Regions from separate parts of the Homo sapiens genome. Here all the other regions are linked to region 3. Evidence: promoter capture Hi-C in human tissues and cell types (Jung and others, 2019). All regions are on one chromosome and are shown on one strand. Each heading gives the region's core, a stretch centred on a gene start or on the middle of the fragment in contact. The rest is flanking DNA. Distances are from core to core; before and after follow the strand shown.

What was found. Contacts are between HindIII fragments. The study calls those that stand out against the background at their distance.
Region 1: the fragment with the promoter of ZNF626 here is called in contact with the fragment with the promoter of ZNF708 in region 3 in 1 of the 25 tissues and cell types used here (mesendoderm cells).
Region 2: a contact is called between a fragment that was not itself captured here and the fragment with the promoter of ZNF708 in region 3, in 2 of the 25 tissues and cell types used here (aorta and dorsolateral prefrontal cortex).

The regions. Positions count from the first base shown.
Region 1 is chr19:20,660,074-20,663,099 of GRCh38, reverse strand. ZNF626 (zinc finger protein 626) reads left to right here and starts at 1,529. Exons shown (of 4, transcript NM_001076675.3): 1 at 1,529-1,656. The coding sequence starts at 1,654. RefSeq lists a silencer at 1,335-1,404. The HindIII fragment of the contact is 1,409 bases long and covers 1,124-2,532 here.
Region 2 is chr19:20,558,385-20,561,334 of GRCh38, reverse strand. All of the region lies in intron 1 of ZNF737 (zinc finger protein 737), which reads left to right. The region is part of intron 2 of LOC105372316 (a long non-coding RNA gene); the gene reads right to left. Among named protein-coding and RNA genes, the nearest start is that of ZNF737, 5.9 kb to the left of the region's middle. The HindIII fragment of the contact is 6,645 bases long and covers 1-2,950 here.
Region 3 is chr19:21,327,796-21,330,662 of GRCh38, reverse strand. ZNF708 (zinc finger protein 708) reads left to right here and starts at 1,253. Exons shown (of 4, transcript NM_021269.3): 1 at 1,253-1,453. The coding sequence starts at 1,451. RefSeq lists a silencer at 940-1,161 and enhancers at 408-1,396, 1,281-1,460, 1,501-1,700, 2,789-2,867. The HindIII fragment of the contact is 12,621 bases long and covers 1-2,867 here.

The DNA.
Region 1 (3,026 bases), core at 280-2,779, 670 kb after region 3:
AAATTGATATAATAAGAGCATTGCAATGGGAAGGGGAGAAGAGAAAAAATATATATCTTTACACTCACCAGACTATGGAGGATTCATCAGCAGACCAGGAAGCAACAGCCTGGGCTCCAGAGTCGGCCACCCATCCCTGTACAGACAAGGAGAGGTCTTTGGAGCTTTGGTGCAGTCTGGGATCCTAGCTCTTTTTGTAACAAGTTGTTTGGCATGAGGCCCAGTTGCAACTGGGCTCTTTGCAACTGGGCTCAAGGAACACAAAAAAGTCAACTTGTTTTTTTTGCGATTGGCTATTGTTTTTCAATAACTAACGTATAGGAATAGATTAAAATAGAGATTTCTCCAAAACAATCTGTGCCCAGTTCTCTTTGCCCAGCTTGGCCTCAGTCCCATTCAGCCAGAAGATGGCAGCTGCGCTGACAGCCAGGCCCCCAGAAGTCCTGCCTCTTCACTGCGCTGTGACTGTGCCCTGGCCTGGAGCCCACTTTGGGCAGCTCTGCACCTGCAGCATGGCGTCTCTCCCAGATTGTGCAGGGACCAGGGGAAGGTCGGCAGGTGAATGCCTCAAGGGGCTCACATAACCTGTTCCAGGACTTGGTGACCATTGTTTGTGTCCATGTTCAACTGAGTTCAAATTTAATATTTAACTTTTCCTCCACAAATTCCCCTGTCTTGATGAATCATCTCTGTCTAGGCAAGATGAAGCCCTTAGGCCGTTACACAACCTCCGCCTCCTGGGTTCAAGCGATTCCCCTGCTTCAGCCGCCGTAGCACCTGGGACTACAGGTGTGTACCACCACACCTGGCTAATTTTTTGTGTTTTTACTAGAGATGAGATTCAACATGTTGGCCAGGCTGGTCTTGAACTCCTGACCTGAAGTGATCCACCCACTTTGGCCTCCCAAAGTGCTTGGATTACAAGCGTGCACCAGCGGACTGGCCCTAAATGATTTCTTTGTCTCTTGTAACAGTTTGAAATTACTTAAAGGTTGTTTCAAATTGAAAAAATAAAAAGAATGTAGATAAAAATAAAATATAAAAAGTTAAAAAATTACATTAGATTACAAAATATGTATGTAAATCTCGAGAGGTCAAAAATGACAAATTTGATTTTTTATAAGGTTTTATCAAAATTACCTTTAGTATTGATAATACATTATTGCCAAAGTAAAAGTTGATTTTCTCTTGAACAAAAATTTTATGTATTATTAATATGAGAGCAAAATACTTCTGTTCACCTTTTGAATACATTCAAAAAGAGAGAGAGTAAAGAAAAGATAGAATTCTCCCATGCTCTGGGGTGGGCCTGGCTCAGCTCAGGAAGGAAGCCCTGCCTGAAAAGGCTGCAGCTTAGGCTGTCACTCTTTCTTCACTCAGCTCAGCGTCTGATCACATCTACTGTCACTCAGGGCCTCAGGGGGCGGGGCCTTAAGCATTATCCAATCAGGGATGGTGGGCTGGAAACCATCCAATCAGGAACGCAGCTGGAGCGAAGAGGACGGTTTCCGGGTTTGGTGCGGCCTTTGTCTCTCGCTGCAGTCAGAGCTCCAGGTCTGGTTCTTCTCCTAAAGGCCCAGGCTGTGTGGCCCCGTGTCCTGCAGGTATTGGGAGATCCACAGCTAAGACACCGGGACCTCCTGGAAGCCAAAAATGGTGAGAGTGAGGGTCCGACATCCCGAGAGAGGAGAGGGACTGGTTGGAACCGGTGAAAAGTGGCTGTGGCGGGACTCAGGCCTCCCCGCAGTCAGCTCCACAGTCTGCTCCCCCAGTTCTCCTTGCTCAGCTCGGCCTCAGTCCTGTTCAGCCATAAAATGGCAGCTGCGCTGACAGCCGGCACCCGGGCGTCTTGTCTCTTCACTGCGCGGTGACTACCCTGGCCTGGAGCCCTCTCTGGGCAGCTCTGCACCCGCAGCGTGGCGTCTCTCCCAGATTGTGCAGGGACCAGGGGAGGGTGGGCAGGGGAGAATCCTGACTCGGGGTGCGGGTTCATGAATGGGAAGAGCTTTGTTCCTTTGGGTTTACAGTTTCTCTTTTCTCCTATTAAAAATGTATGGGGCCGGACGCTGTGGCTCACGCCTGTAATCCCAACGTTTTGGGAGGCCGAGGCGGGCGGATCACTTGAGGTAAAGAGGTGTTAGGACAACTAAGTTCCTTTTAAATGACTCAACTTTCTGGTCATAAGTTGTAAAAGTTGTAAATCAACCCTACCTCTTCTTCTACCCCCTTTTCCTTTTCTCGCAAATCGCGCATTTACTTTATTTGGAAAAAGTTTGGGTCTAAGCTTACCAGGATCAGCTTAGATTGTGCGGTCTGATCCCAGCCAATAGGGGATGGAAACAAAAACAGGAACTGCATTAGGGTTCAAAACCCCTTTCTTGCTGGGCGCGGTGGCTCAAGCCTGTAATCCCAGCACTTCGGAGGCCGAGGCAGGTGGATCACGTGGTCAGGAGTTCTAGACCAGCCTGGCCAACGTGGTGAAACCCGTCTCTACTAAAAATACGAAAACTATCGGCGTGTTGGCACGTGCCTGTAGTACCAGCCACTTGGGAGGCTGAGGCACGAGAATTGCTTGAACCCGGGAGGCGGAAGTTGCAGTGAGCTGAGATCCAATCATCGCGCTCCAGCCTGCGTGACAAAGCGAGACTCCGGCTCAAAAAAAAGAAAAAAAAAGTAAGCATCTTAAAAATTCCTTTATGTAAACATTGTGAGTAATTTCACTGGAGTTTCTAACACTTAGTTTCAAAAACCAAGTGAATAACTGATGTGGACATTAAAGCTTGAACCTAGTGACTCCAAGCTAAGGCTAATATTAAGCCTGCAACAGGGTATTTTTTTTTTTTTTTTTTTTTTTTTAGACACAGTGTCGCTTGTGGTGCCCAGGCTGGAATGTAATGGCGTGATCTCGGCTTACTGGGTTCAAGCGATTCTCCTACCTCAGCCCCACCAGTAGCTGGGATTACAGGCATGCACCATCACGCCCGGCTAATTTTGGTGTTTAGTAGAGACGGGTTTTCTCCATGTTT
Region 2 (2,950 bases), core at 324-2,823, 770 kb after region 3:
ACGGCGTTTTTGATCCTAGTGTTTCTTGCCAAGAACCCACAAGTCTCTACAAGTCTCCTGGCGTATCCCCACCCCCAGACACTAAATCTGCAGCAGCAATCTGTTTTCTCCACCAACCTAGCATTTTGAATCAGCTGTTCATAATCTCATATGTCTGCGTGCACACAGTAATAAATCAGAGTACAGCTGCACCAGGACAACTATCTGTAGCAAAAATCAGTCCTCTCACCTACATTGCAATCTCTCCCACCCAGGGATTTAATTTTTTCTTTTAGCTTTTATTTTTGTTTTGGGGTACACATGAGTTTGTTTTGGTGCATGGGGGTTTTGCGTGCAGATTATTTTGTCACTGAGGTATTAAGCATAGCACCAAACAGGTATGTTTTCTGATTCTCTTAGTCTTCCACCCTCCACCCTCAACTAGGCCGCAGCGTCTGTTGTTCTCCTCTTTGTGTTTGTGTGTTCTTATTATTTAGCTGTTACTTATAAATAAAAACATGCATTTGGTTTTCTGTTTCTACAGTATTTTCTTTTTCTTTCTTTCTTTTTTTTTGGAGACGGAGTTTCACTTTTGTTGCCCAGGCTGGAGTGCAATGGTGTGATCTCGGCTCACCACAACCTCCGTCTCCCAGTTTCAAGTGATTCTCCTGCCTCAGCCTCCTGAGTAGCTGGGATTACAGGCACATGGCACCACACCCAGCTAATTCTGTATTTTTAGTAGAGATGGCTTTTCTCCATGTTGGGCAGGCTGGTCTCGAACTCCTGACCTCAAGTGATCAACCTACATTGGCCTCCCAAAGTGGTGGGATTACAGGCATGAGCCACTGCGCCAGGCCTCTGCATTTGTTTTCTAAGAATGATGGTCTCCAGCTTCATTGACGTTATTGCAAAGGACATGATTTTTTTTTTTAATGGCCACAGAGTATTCCATGAGGTTTATATACCATATTTTATTTTGACTAAATCTTTTATTTCATTTTATTTTTGGAGACAGAGTCTCCCTTATTGCCCAGGCTAGAGTGCCATGGCATGATATTGGTTTACTTTAGCCTCAACCTCCCTGGCTCAAGCAATTTTCTCCTACCTCATGTTCCCAAGTAGCTTGGACTACACGCGGGCATTACCACACCTGGCCAATTTTTTTTTTTTTTTTTTTTTTTTTGAGACGGAGTCTCGCTCTGTCGCCCAGGCCGGACTGCGGACTGCAGTGGCGCAATCTCGGCTCACTGCAAGCTCCGCTTCCCGGGTTCACGCCATTCTCCTGCCTCAGCCTCCCGAGTAGCTGGGACTACAGGCGCCCGCCACCGCGCCCGGCTAATTTTTTGTATTTTTAGTAGAGACGGGGTTTCACCTTGTTAGCCAGGATGGTCTCGATCTCCTGACCTCATGATCCACCCGCCTCGGCCTCCCAAAGTGCTGGGATTACAGGCGTGAACCACTGCATCTGACCATACCATATTTTCTTTACCCAGTCTACCACTGATAGGTATTTAGGGCCTGTCCTTATCTTTGCTATTGTGAATAGTGCTGCAGTGAACATGCATGTGGATGTGTCTTTATAATATAATAATTTATGTTTCTTTGGGTATATACCCAATTATGAGATCCCTGGGTCAAATGATAATTCTGTTGTTAGTTCTGTGAGGAACCGCCACACTGCTTTTTACAGTTGTTAAACTATTTACACTCCCACCAGCAGAGTATAAGCATTCCGTTTTCTCTGCAACCTTGCCAGCATCTATTATTTTTTGACTTTTTGAAAATAGCCATTCTGACTGGTGTGAAGTGATATCTCGTTGTTGTTTTTCTTTTAATTTCTCTAGTGATTAGTGATGAGCATTTTTTTCAAGTACTTCTTAGCCACATGTGGTTTTTCTTTTAATTTCTCCCGTGATTAGCGATGAGCATTTTTTTCAGGTACTTAGCCACATGTATATTTTCTTTTGAAAAGCAGTGTTCATCTTTTTTGCCTACTTTTTAATGAGGTCGTTTGGTTTTGTCTTTTAAACTTGTTTAAGTTTCTAATAAATTCTGGATATTAGACCTTTGTCAGAGGCAAAGTTTGCAAAAATTTTCTTTTATTCTGTAGGTTGTCTTTTTCCTCTGTTGATAGTTTCCTTTGCTGTGAAGAAGCGCTTTAGTTTAAATAGGTCCCATTTGTCAATTTTTGCTTCTGTTGCAGTTGCTTTTGGTAGCTTCCTCATGAATTCTTTGCCAGTTTCTGTGTCTAGAATGGTATTTCCTAGGTTTTCATGCAGTGTTTCTTATAATTTTAAGCTTACATTTAAGTGTTTATCTTCAGTTGATTTTTGTATATGCTGTAATGAAGTGAGCTAGTTTCAGTCTTCTACATAGTGCTAGGTAGTTATTCCAGCACCATTTATTAAAGAGAGAATTCTTCCCACATTTCCCTTGTCAGCTTTGTCAAAAATCTGATGGTTATAGGAGGGTGGCATTATTTCTGGGCTCTCTATTCTGTTGCATTGGTCTTCAGCCTGAGTCTCTCTAGCCTGGCTTATCATTGGGCCATCAGCCCAGGGTCACTGGAAATTCCCTCACAATCACCTGGGTGTCTTTGAGGCATTTGAGGATGTTCAGAGCAGAATTGTGTTAGGCTGATAAGAGTGGTTAATTCTGCTTCTGTCTCAGTGTAAGGGAAATGAGTCATCCTGTGTTTTTTCATCCCCTCATACAAGAGGTGTCTTTGGTTGGTACCCAGATGAGAGTTTCTCCAGTTTCCTAGTACTTGGATGGTAAAGAAGGAAAAGATCTGGAGACCCAAATGGATAAACTAGTTGCTTCCATTTTATATGGCCATTAAAAAAAAACTATGCAGCAGTCTTTTTTCCTACAATCCAGAAGCTTTTAGTCTAGACTAGCAACTGGATAAATAATTGAATTGTGCATCATATGGTTGGTGCAATACATAGATGTGTCCAACACCTTGGGC
Region 3 (2,867 bases), core at 4-2,503:
ATAGAGCTAAACTCTTTTTAAAGTTTGGCTACAAATTAGCCGGGCATGGTGGCCAGCGCCTTTTATCTCAGCTACTTGGGAGGCTGAGGCAGGAGAATCGCTTGAACCCGGGAGGCAGAGGTTGCAGTGAGCAGAAATCGCGCCATTGCACTCCAGCCCAGGCAACAATGTGAGACTCCGTCTAAAAAAATAAAAATATAAAATAAAGTTTGGCTACTAGAAAATTTAAAATTTACATGTGGCTCACATTTTATGATTTTATTTTATTTATTTATTTTTTTTGAGACAGAGTTTCACTCTTGTTGTCCATACTGGAGTGCAGTGGCGTGATCTCGTCTCACTGCAACCTCCACCGCCCAGGATCAAGCGATTCTCCTGCCCCAGCCTCCCAAGTAGCTGGGATTACAGGCGCCTGCCACCATGCCCAGCTAATTTTTTTGTATTGTTTTAGAGACGGGGTTTCACCATGTTGGCCAGACTGATCTCGAACTCTGAACCTCAGATGATCCACCCTCTTCGGCCTCCCGAAGTACTGGGATTACAGGCGTGAGGTACAGCGCCCAACTTGTGGCTCACATTTTATTTCAGAGAATTGCCTCCTTTTTAAAATCTCAGGCTGCCTGCTCAAAGGACCAGAAGTCAGGAAGGTCACAAAATATAAAATTTTAGAACAGTTGGGCCGGGCGCAGTGGCTCATGCCTGTAATCCCAGCATTTTGGGAGGCCGAGGCGGGAGGATCACCTGAGGTCTGGAGTTTGAGACCAGCCTGACCAACATGGAGAAACCCCGTCTCTACTAAAAATACAAAAAAATTAGCCGGGCATGGTGGCGCATGCCTGTAATCTCAGCTACGCGGGAGGCTGAGGCAGGAGAATCGCTTGAACCCGCGAGGTGGAGGTTGCGATGAGCCAAGATCGCGCCATTGCACTCCAGCCTGGGCAACAAGAGTGAAACTCAATCTCAAAAAAAAAATTTTTTTTAGAACAATTGGGTTATTATATTCTTTTCATTTGTGAATAGCCATATAGCATATTATTTATAAGGGCATATGACCTTATACACAAGATTAAAGGCAAACACCCTCTCGGGTGGGCCTGGCTCAGCTCAGGGAGGAAGCCTTGCCTGAAAAGGCTGCAGCATAGGCTGTCACACTTCATTCAGCCCAGCATCTGATCACATCTTCCGTCCCTCAGGGCCTGAAGGGGCGGGTTTTAACATTATCCAATCAGGGACTCTGAGCTGGGGACAGTTCACTCAGACACGCAGCTGGACCGGACAGGGCGGCTTCCGGGTTTGGCGCGGCCTTTGTCTCTTGCTGCAGCCGGAGCTCCGGTCTCGTCTTCACTGCTGTTTGTCCTCTGCTCCTAGAGGCCCAGACTCTGTGGCTCTGTGACCTGCAGGTATTGGGAGATCCACAGCTAAGACTCCAGGACCCTCTGGAAGCCTAGAAATGGTGAGAGTGCCGTCCGACATCCCGAGAGAGGGGAAGGGCTGGTTGAAACCTGTGGGAAGTGGCTGTGGCGGGACTCAGGACTCCCCGCAGTCATCTCCACAATCTGCGCTCCGAGTTCTCCTTGCCTAGCTCGGCCTCAGTCCCCTTCAGCCATAAGATGGCGGCTGCGCCGACAGCCGGGCCCCCGGGCGTCCTGTCTCTTCCCTGCGCAGTGACTGTGCCCTGGCCTGCAGCCCTCTCTGGGCGGCTCTGCACCGGCAGCGCCGCGCCTCTCCCAGATTGTGCAGGGACCATGGGAGGGTGGTCAGGGGAGAATCCTGACTTGGGGTCGGGTTCATGAATGGGAAGAGCTTTGGTCTGTGGGGTTCCCGGTTCCTATTTTCTCCTATTAAAAATCTGTGGCAGTCATCGCAAAAAATATTAAAGAATTTAATCAAAGAGTGATTCAATAATTGTAGAGCACAAAAGTATGTTTTGTAGTTTGTGGTTCATGGGAGGAGCTTGAAGGAAAGACTTTTTATAAGGTGCATGATGAAGAAAACTATATTTAATAATCGGTTAGGTACATTTACGTAGCTGTTGCTGTTAAGTAGAAAGCCGGGGACTAGAGCCTCCTCAGTGTAATTGCCTGCCACTTAATTATTCTCACACTCCACAGGGGACTGATTTTCCCCTGCATTTTTCACATGCGTTCCAAGCGGGGTCTCAAGTGTACCTCCCAGCCCCATTCCTCCAGCCTAACTCTGGCCTGCAGTTAGATTTAAACTGCAAATAAACTAAAATACTAAATTTCTAGTTCCTTCTGACATTTCCAAATGCCAGCTTGCCTTTCCTAATTCACATTCTCAACTGTTTTTCCTTTAGTGTACATTTTTGATACTGTATTTTAGTTAATCATTTTTTGACAAAGCATTGGATGGCACTTAAAATTGTTTTCTGGTTGAAAATATTTCTCATGAGAAGAAAGCAAAAAATAATTCCCTGACACTGTATTTTATGAAATTTCTATGGCTTTTTTTTTTTTATCTTCCTCAGGCACAGAAATCTTATCAGAATGTTTGTTTTCAGGTGAAGGTTTTTCTTTGGAAACTTTACGGAGTGATGTGTCTTCAGCCACCCTTCAGTTTTTTCCTGGTCCTGGGTTTCAGTACTGTCTGGAGTAAACCAAGATACACATCATGACTTTTTCTGCTAGAGTGTCTAGTGAATATCAGCTCCTGGGTCATTTTTCTCCCTGAGGACAACCTGAGGTATGGAGTGTAGCTTCTCAAGGGAGCAGGTGGATGCCCTGGGGCTGAGAGGCATCTCCTGGCATACTCTTCCTTTGAAAAGCTAACCCCTTGAGACATTAAGATTGTCTTCACCCAACCCAGCTTCCATTTCTTGGAGACACAGTGCTGGTCAGCCAATCAGA